2 separate regions of the Homo sapiens genome follow, and region 2 is linked to region 1. Evidence: promoter capture Hi-C in 16 types of primary human blood cells and fetal thymus (Javierre and others, 2016). All regions are on one chromosome and are shown on one strand. The core of a region is centred on a gene start or on the middle of the fragment in contact, and the rest is flanking DNA. Distances in the headings are between cores, read along the strand shown.

Region 1 (4,503 bases), core at 606-3,105:
TGCCAAGCAGGGAGCAAACCAGAAATGGTCTGAGCCCTCCCTTCCCCCATCCTCAGAGGGGCCTGCCCCTTTAGGTAAACACAAGGAGGCACCGAGGCTGCTGTACAAGAGTTGGTTCCTGCTCACTCCACAAACTCTACTTCCACCTACTGCAAAAGGTTCTGTCCTTTTTTTTAAAAAAAAAAAAAAAAAAGAAACCCAGTGAGGGGTGGGGTAGGTGTGTGTGGAGGAGAGGAGAAAAGGACAAGTGATGGTCTCCCCACCTCCCAGTAAGCCGCAGGTGCAGAGACTCCAAGCCTGCCTCAGGGCCCTTCCGGCATCTGTGCAGGAGGGTCTCCGCAGAAAAAACCCAGGACCCACGACCTGGGAGGACCCCGGTCACCCCCACTGTCTGGACCCACCAGTGGGAGGTAAAGTGTAAGAAACCAAGGGCAAAGGGCCCTCCCTGGGCGGGCTAGAGATCCCCTGGAAAGGGCCATGCACCGCGCGATCCCCACAACAATCTCAAGTATTTGGAGCATGTTGGGGAGGAAGCCCCGGTGCCAAAACCAAGCATGTGCCACCTGGAAGCCCGCTCCCGCCCACCAGCACACCAACCCACCCACGCTCCTGACAGAGCTGTGCTCCGGGTGCGTAGAGGGCCATCTTGTTCGCAACAACCGGGTGAAAGTTGAAATTCTAAGCTACTGACCCAGAAGGGTATTTTCGGGGAAGTTCTGAGTAATCCTCTTTGAGACAAGGTACTTTATCACTCATTTTGGTTCCTAAATATGGAAAGCCAGAGGAAACCGACAATGGCCCAAAGGCAGGGGGATGGCCCCGATGACTCCTTCACCTCCAACTAAGGCCCATGATTCTGTTCTCCTATCAATAAAAATTAATTCATGGATCCTTGGCAGGTACCTTTCTATCTGAATGAATTAAAGGAGGGACATTAAACAAACGGTTTCTAGATTTAGAAGAGGAGACGCTATTTATAATTTGAGGACTGAGGAGGACAAAGGATCCTGCCTGCCTGGATCCTTTGGAGAAAACCACAAAGGAAAAAAAAAAGGAAGGAAAAGACAAATAATGAAGATCTGGATTTCTCTTAACCTGCCCTTGTGGCCTCGGTGTGCCCATCTGTGAAATGGAACTTCAGAGTGCCAGAGCGGGAGCCTCTTATGAAATGAAAGCTCCTGAACCGGCTCATGGTGAGGCCCAAGTCAGGCCCCCTTCGCCTACTTAAGGCGGGCCCTGCTAGGGTGGAGTGAGGATGTCAGCCGCGGGCGGCGTCCTGAGCGCAAAACGTGAACCCGAGTCGCCAAGTTTGGGCGCTGCTGGACGGTCCCATCTGGAGGCCGTCCCGTGCCCCACTAAGTAGAGGAGAAACCGAAGAGAATCCGAAGAAAGGATGCTGCGGCCTGGACCACCAGCCCTAGAGGCTGAACCCAAGGACACCCCTCCACCTAGCCCCGACCCCATTCACCCACACAGACGCACAGGGACCCAAAGCACCCGGCCGACCTGGAAAGTCAGCGATTCCTGCGAGGGTGCAAGGGGCGAGGAAGAGGGAGCGTCCCCCAGGGCAGCCCCTCCGACACTCGAGCAAGGGCTGGAGACAGCGCAGGGGACGGTCGGCTCAGGTCGAAAGCGGCCCGACAGCGGCCCTGTCCTGGGAGGAACTCGACCTGCAGTGTGCCCGCCGCGGGGACTCGCTCAGCTCCGGGGGCGCCTCGCCACTCCCGGCCGCAGGCACTCAGGTGAGCAGCGCTGGTCCCGGGACACCGACCCCTCCCCACCCCGGGCGCGAAGCCCACCTGAGTAAGACTTCTTCATGGTGCCTCCGTGGCCGCCGCTCCCAGGAAAGTGTGGCGGCGAGGCAGCGGGGCGCGCGCTCCCAGGGCGCTAATCCTGGGCCGGTAGTAGGAAGGCGGGAAGAGGGGGCGGCCCGCCGTCTGGAGTGCACCGACCGGGCCCCGCCCCGGCCCCGCCCCCGCCCCGCCCCTCCCCGGAGATGCGCATAGAACCCCGGCCCAGCCGGCTGTGGTCCCGCCCCTGACCCGCCCCCTCCCCGCCCCGTGAACGTGCGCGCCGAGCCCCACCCCCGCCCACCCCTGCGCTGCGCTGCACCTGGCGGAGCGGGGCTGGCGGGCGCCGGGCCTGGGAGGGGGCGCCCCCGCGCGGCAGCGCAGACCAGACCAGACCAGGCCAGGCCGGGGGTGGGGGCCGCCTGCGTGGCCCGCCGCGCCCGCAGCTCTGCACCCCCAGCTCCCCGCGCTGGCGCCAATGGCTGGTTCCGGGAGTCGCCGCACTTCCCAGTCCCGAGTCCGGGCGGGGCGGGCCCGGCCAGGTGGAAGCGGGCGGAGGTGCGGGCGCTCCGGGCGGCCCCGCCGGGCGAGGCGGCGGCGCCGGGCACCGCGGCGGCGCCGGGCACAGCCGGGGGTCGGAGCCGGGGTGCCGGCTTAGTGGGCCGGGGTAGGGCGGGACAGGACACCTGTCCTGCTACTTTTCTGGTAATCAAAAGGGCAGAGTGCGTCGATTGAGTTGGAGCCTTAGTTTCCTCACCTGTAAATGGGCGCGTTGGACAGATGATCATTTGTTCTCCCTGCGCTGGGCACCGTGCGCAGCTCGGTGTATCGGTGCAGCGGGGCAGACACAGGGAGCCGCCCTTTACAACTCGGGTAACGCAGGCAGTGGTGAGAGGATGCAAAACTTGCACGGAAGAATTCTCTCTACTTGGATATCCTTAAAGTCTCCACGATAAAGCGGTGTTTCCAACGTACAGAGGAAGAAGTGACTAATTATGACTGGAGGGTGGTGTCAGAGTTTTATTGAGGCGAAATCAAAACAGGGTTTTAAGGAATGAGCAGGAATTAGCCAGGCAGCCAAGGTGATGGAAGGCAGCTGTTCCCGAAAGAGGGAAGGGCGTGGCGGAGCCTGGGAGGCCTGAGGTATCACAGCGAGTGTGGAGAGACAGAGGCAGGGCCGGGCCCTTGCACAGCTGCCAATGGAGGCCGTAGAGGACGAGAGGAAGGCGGGAGGCCAGTTGGGAAGCGCTCGCTAGTTCTGGGTAGGGGCGCAGCATTGCCTTCTCCTGCAGCCCTCCCAAAAATGCACAGGAGGCTGAAAGTGTCACTAACAGCCCCGAAAAATCCTCCTCCTCTTCCCCTCTCCTTTACTCTCCTTGGGGGTCCAAGAAGCATTTTCATTTCCTGCCTGAGTGTGGGAAACTTATATGCATGAGAACGGAGGCCTATGTGGCACCGTGGGTTCGTTCCGGCCCACCTGCTTCCTTTCTTGAGTAATCTGTCCAGCCACAGCCCTGCAGAGGGAGCAGCCCAGCCAGAGGAGTTTCCCCTCACCCCAGGTAGAGCTGATTGGACCGGAGTGGACACTGGACTTCAACTGAGTCCACCCCTTTCCTTATCTGGGGGTTAGAGGCTCAGGAGGCCTCGGGAGGGAAGTGCTGTAAGGGAGGGGAGCAGGGAGTATGGACGAATTGTGAACAGCGTCCTGGATTCTGGGATGTCCACACCCTAACCGCAACCCCCACCCACACGCCCACTCACCGCTTGTACCAGCACCAGCAGATTCCGGCTTAGGCCGTGTCCTGACTTGGCCAGCAAGCACCATGATGACACTGCCCCCAGCCTAGCCATGATGACACTGCCACGAGCCTAATGCCTGGGATTCCCAAAGTCCAGCGGTGTCTCAAGAATCTGGGTTATGGGTGCATTGCTGGCTTTGTCCATTTTACTCAGCACAAGTCAGAGGTGCCCTGGAGCACAGTCACCCTGAGGATGCCAGCCCTGGCTGTTCCCTGGCTTTGGGTAGGTGGGTTCCTCTGCGGATGCTCACGCTTCTGCCTGGGGTCACAATTCACAGGAACCTGGGCACCCAGGACCCAAGGACACCTGCGTGGAGTGATGTTGGACACATCACATGGGTGCCTCCTGTGTGATGGTTCCTGGATATCCGAATTTTCCTTCCGATTCCAAGAAATCAGAAAGAAGGACAAGAGAGAGGGAGGGAAGGCTGGGAATGAGGGTTCTACACATTTTTGAGATGCATGAAGCTTAATCTGTCATGAAATTAGAGTTAAAAAAAAAAAAGAAAAATTAAAGAGATGCACGAAGCTTAATTGTTTAAGCCTCAAATTTTGTTTTTATTTATTTATTTTTATTTTTTATTTTTTGAGAGGGAGTTTTGCCCTCGTCGCCGAGGCTGGAGTGCAATGGTGCGATCTCAGCTCACTGCAACCTCTGCCTCCCAGGTTCAAGTGATTCTCCAGCCTCAGCCTCTTGAGTAGCTGAGATTACAGGTGCCCGCCACACCTGGCTAATTTTTTTTTTTTTGTAATTTTTTTCTTTTTTAGTAGAGACAGGGTTTCACCATGTTGGCCAGGCTGGTCTCAAACTCCTAACCTGAGGTGATCCCCCCGCCTCAGCCTCCCAAAGTGCTGGGATTACAGGTGTGAGCCACCGCACCTGGTTTATTTATTTATTTATGAGACAGAGTCTC
Region 2 (4,597 bases), core at 816-3,315, 730 kb before region 1:
AAACTAAAATTATACTCTTTATAAACAAGATTAGGATACTAATTAAATGTACGAATTTGGGCTGAGCTGGTGGCTCAAGCCTGTAATCCCAGCACTTTGGGAGGCCAAAGTGGGTGGACTGCTTGAGTGTGAGACCAACCTGGGCAACAGGGCGAAACCCTGCCTGTATAAAAAAATACAAAAATTAGCCAGGCACTGTGGCATGCACCTGTAGTCAGCTACTTGGGAGGCTGAGGTTGGGGTATCACTTGAGCCTCGGAGGTGGTGGCTGCAGTGAGCTGTGTTCGTGCCACTACACTCCAGCCTGGGCAACAGAGTTAGACCCTCTCTCTCAAAAAAAGTATAAATTCAGATGTATATGACTTAAAAATCATAATTCAGGCCAGGGGCAGTGGCTCACGCCTGTAATCCCAGCACTTTGGGAGGCCGAAGTGGGCAGATCACGAGGTCAGGAGATTAAGACTATCCTGGCAAACATGGTGAAACCCTGTCTCTATGAAAAATACAAAAATTAGCTGGGCATGGTGGTGCGCACCTGTAGTCCCAGCTACTCTGGAGGCTGAGGCAGCAGAATTGCTTGAACCTGGGAGGCAGAGGTTCCAGTGAGCCGAGATTGCACCACTGCATTCCAGCCTGGGCAACAAGAGCAAAACTCCATCTCAAAAAAACAAAAACATAATTCATTAATGATATGGACCATGAACCATAATGGGTCATGAAGGTATTCACTTTCATACATGGTAAGATTAACTTTGAGCTTTTTGTATGAAAACATCTACTTTATGAAGTTAAACAAATCTGGCTAAAAGCACTGAATTAAATTTTCACATTTATGAAAATTATCATAGTTAATCATTAAAAAAACCCTCACTCAATCCATGAAAACACCCAGAAAACAATACTGAAAACTTAGGCTCCCAAGGTCATCATATCACAAATAAAGCTATTATTACCTGTGCCTCAATTAAGGGCAGTGCCAAAAATAAAGAAAACTGATTACTCATTATGGTCATAAAACCCATGCCAGTCTGAAGTGACACTTGGACCCCAGTTACTCCACAGAGAGCTACAATGCACAAGTTAATGGCAACAGGATTATATCTGATTCCCTTTTCCCCCAGTATAAGAGCATCTAGGGTCTCACTAAGGTAACAGGTAATTGTGTTCGGCTGTCTCTTTCTTTGGTCACCAACGCAAAGACGATATTCAGCAGAATTTACAAAGGGCTAGTTTATGAATAGGCTCCCACAGAGGTTTTCAAATTGCTTGGTGCAGCTCCTTGAAGGGATAGGGATCCAGGAGTGCTAACTGCGGGGGAGCAGTGGAGAGTCCATATAAATATATATTTATGTATATGAATTCATAGAGAGATGCATTCAAGGATGGCTAACTGTTAATGGGTAAATATCTCAGGACAGAGGAATTTCGAGTGAACTTTAATTTCTCTTTAGATAATCTCAAATTATTTTCAATCAGAATATATAACTTTTGTTTTTCATCACAGGAGGGAAAAATAAGAAAAAGTTGACTACAACAACAACCCAACACTCTGAGACAACTAAGGAAAAGGCCTCCAGGTTTAGAAACATGCCCAGACTCCTTAGGAGTGCAGGATGTCAACCCCACTGGAGGGTTTGCAGACTTAGAGGCATAGAGGAAAATCAAGGGGGAGTCAAGAGGAAGAAACTGATGAAAGCCAAAGTGAATCAACTATTTGAGTGAAAACCCCCGGGGCTGAATAAAAGTGTATCTCCTGGCTGCAGAGAAAACGTGGTTCCCATGATCACATCAGGGTAGGATGGGGGTATGAATGTTGGCAGCATAGTGTTTCACACAAACGTACTCACTTGGCCTGAATCTTAAAAAGAAAATGACCCAAAGATATCACAGGTCAGAATTTGAAAAGATAGCCAGGAACAAAATTTCTGTTCAGTGGTAATTTTACAAAGCAGACTTCCTAGAAATCTAATTTTCAAATTTGTTGGGGGAGGGTAGGAAAGCATGCTACATATTATATTAAGTTATTCAAAAAACATATATTTCCAGTTAGCTTCAGTTCGGCATTAGTCTTTTAAATAAGAATTCATAGTTCAAGTTTGATGGTTATAGCCAGATGCAAACATTTTTTTAAGTATAATTAATGCTATAATGGAGACTCATCTATTAAGAACGGATTAGACTAGTTAATATTCTCCAGGAGAAGGTAGAGGAGTATCATAGATGAGCATGTCATATATTCTAAAAAGTTCCTTGAAAATGTTTAAAACAAATCCAAATTTAAAGCATTTCTATTATTGAGAAAATTAAGTCAAATATAATGCTAAATAATTGGGGCATGGCTTTACGAATGCTACTAGTTGAGTGGTGTGTAATATTGCAGAGTAAGGGAATTTCTAATTGATTTGGTCTAGTTTGAGCTAATTATCAAAACCAAAATTATTCAAACTTCTACAATGTTGATTGATTCAGTATATTATGCAATCTAATTTATAACTGCAGCTTCTCTCTTAAGAGTATCCAACTCTCGGACTCTCTCAAATTGCTAAACACTTTCCTATATTCAAACAACTCAGGGCCTTGAGACTTCTGGGTGCTGCCTTGTGGCAAATGTGGCCCCTGCCCTCATAGACACACAATCTGGAGCAGGGGAGGGAAGTCAAAATGCTAGAATGTTAGGAAAGCATCAATTTTATGTGTGAACACTAATACTAGTACTATAACATGTATCATAGGTACAGTCAGGCCAACCTGTGTCACCCGACAAAAGTGTCCAGTCAGAAAGTTGGAACCAATATTTCTCAGGCAATGAATTTTGGTTTGAACCAGTAATAATGAAGAGTCTGAGAAAAACGTAAACCTTGATGCTGCTAATATTCATCAATGAATTACCTAGCAGTACTGTTAGATTATTTATAATTCAAAAAGCATTTTTTGTTTGGAAAGACATTAATTATTACTACAACCCATTCTAAGGCTAGTTAGTAGTTACTGATAAACTGTACCCAAAGGAACAGTATTTTAGAGGATATAGAAGGAGAAGAGAAAAATCCAGTAGAGTTTGGAGTTAGCAATGAAAATTCTCAACAGAGGCCAGGTGCGGTGGCTCACGCCTGTAATCCCAGCACTTTGGCAGGCCGAGGTGGGGGGGAATCATTTGAGGTCAGGAGTTCGAGACCAACCTGGCCAACATGGTGAAACCCTGTCTCTACTAAAAATACAAAAAATTAGCTGGGTGTGGCCATGCGTGCCTGTAACCCCAGCTTATGGGGTGGGGGTGGGGTGATGCTGAGGCAGGAGAACCACTTGAACCTGAGGGGTGGAGGTTGCAGTGAGCCGAGATCATGCCACTGTACTCCACCCAGCCTGGGCGATAGAGCAAGACTCCATCTCAAAAAAAAAAAAAATAAATAAATAAATAAATAAAAGAAAATTCTCATCAGAACAGTAATAGAAAATGATAGCTCTGCGTAAAGTGGTGGGACAATGTAATTCACAATCACTGTTCAGTAATAAGCAATTTGTTACTACTTGAGTAGAAAACAGTGACAATGATGAAGAATATAGCTGGTACTAAACCAGACAGAAAAATTCAAGAAGAAGGAAGAAGAAGAAAGAAGAAGAAGGAAGAAGGAGGAAGAAGGAAGAAGGAAGAAGAAGGAAGAAGGAAGAAGGAAGAAGAAGAAGAAGAAGAAGAAGAAGAAGAAGAAGAAGAAGAAGAAGAAGAAGAAGAAGAAGAAGAAAGAAGAAGAAGAAGAAGAAATGGATGATCCAGAACAGTTAACTCTGTATTTTGAAATGACAATAGTAAGAAACCATTGTTTTTCATTCAAGATCATAAATTCATACACAACTATGTACCATAAACCTTTTGGACCCTTCTGGAAAAGTGTTATGTAAATTCACAGTGCTTCTGAGAGTATAACAGAGAAAAATGTCCTTTTTGCTATGCTGCTTTTTAATATTCATTGAGCATTAACTCCCTCTCTTCATGTGACTCTAGTCTAGAGGTTCAGAGACCTGGACTCCCTCAAGTCTTGCCTTTACCATTAACTGGTTCTTAACCAAGAACCAGCCTCTTAATTCACACTAGGAGATTATCTGTAAACGAATTCCTTTCCTGTTCAGCTATGAAGTTCAAATGAGATAATACACATAACCTTAACTTTGAAAATTATAAAATGTCTCACAAAAGCATAGTATTAGCTGTGAGAGTGCATGTGTCTACATGTACAGTTGTGTACATGTGATGGTCCAGTGGAAAAAAACTTCAGAATAACAGTTATAGTAAACCTTTACTGAGCACCAATTATATGCTAGATACTGAGTCATTTTCCTGCATGATCTCAATTAGTCTTTTTTTTTTACATTTTATTTTGAATTGACAAATAATCGTATTAAGTCTTTGTAACAGCTTTATGAGGTAGGAACCATTCACTACCTTTCTCATTTTAAATATGAGATACTGAAGCCTAAAGAAGTGAAGTAACTTGTCCCAAATTAAACAGAGCTAGTTTATGTGACTCCTGAGTGGGTGCTCTTAACCACTGGGAAATAACTAAACATACAGGTATAAAAGGAAGAGGCTTGGAGTATGGCT

The links. The method cuts DNA at HindIII sites, captures the fragments that hold promoters and counts their contacts. A CHiCAGO score of 5 or more calls a contact.
Region 2: a contact is called between a fragment that was not itself captured here and the fragment with the promoter of SEPTIN9 in region 1, in 1 of 17 cell types (naive B cells). The highest score is 5.4, in naive B cells.

Annotation. Positions count from the first base shown.
Region 1 is chr17:77,278,851-77,283,353 of GRCh38, reverse strand. It overlaps SEPTIN9 (septin 9), which reads right to left and starts at 1,855. Exons shown (of 12, transcript NM_001113491.2): 1 at 1,800-1,855. The coding sequence starts at 1,818. SEPTIN9-DT (SEPTIN9 divergent transcript) reads left to right here and starts at 1,457. Exons shown (of 3, transcript NR_136503.1): 1 at 1,457-1,742. RefSeq lists a silencer at 1,361-1,524 and an enhancer at 3,126-3,773. The HindIII fragment of the contact is 6,769 bases long and covers 1-4,059 here.
Region 2 is chr17:78,005,636-78,010,232 of GRCh38, reverse strand. The region is part of intron 3 of TNRC6C (trinucleotide repeat containing adaptor 6C); the gene reads right to left. Among named protein-coding and RNA genes, the nearest start is that of TNRC6C, 49 kb to the right of the region's middle. The HindIII fragment of the contact is 6,923 bases long and covers 1-4,597 here.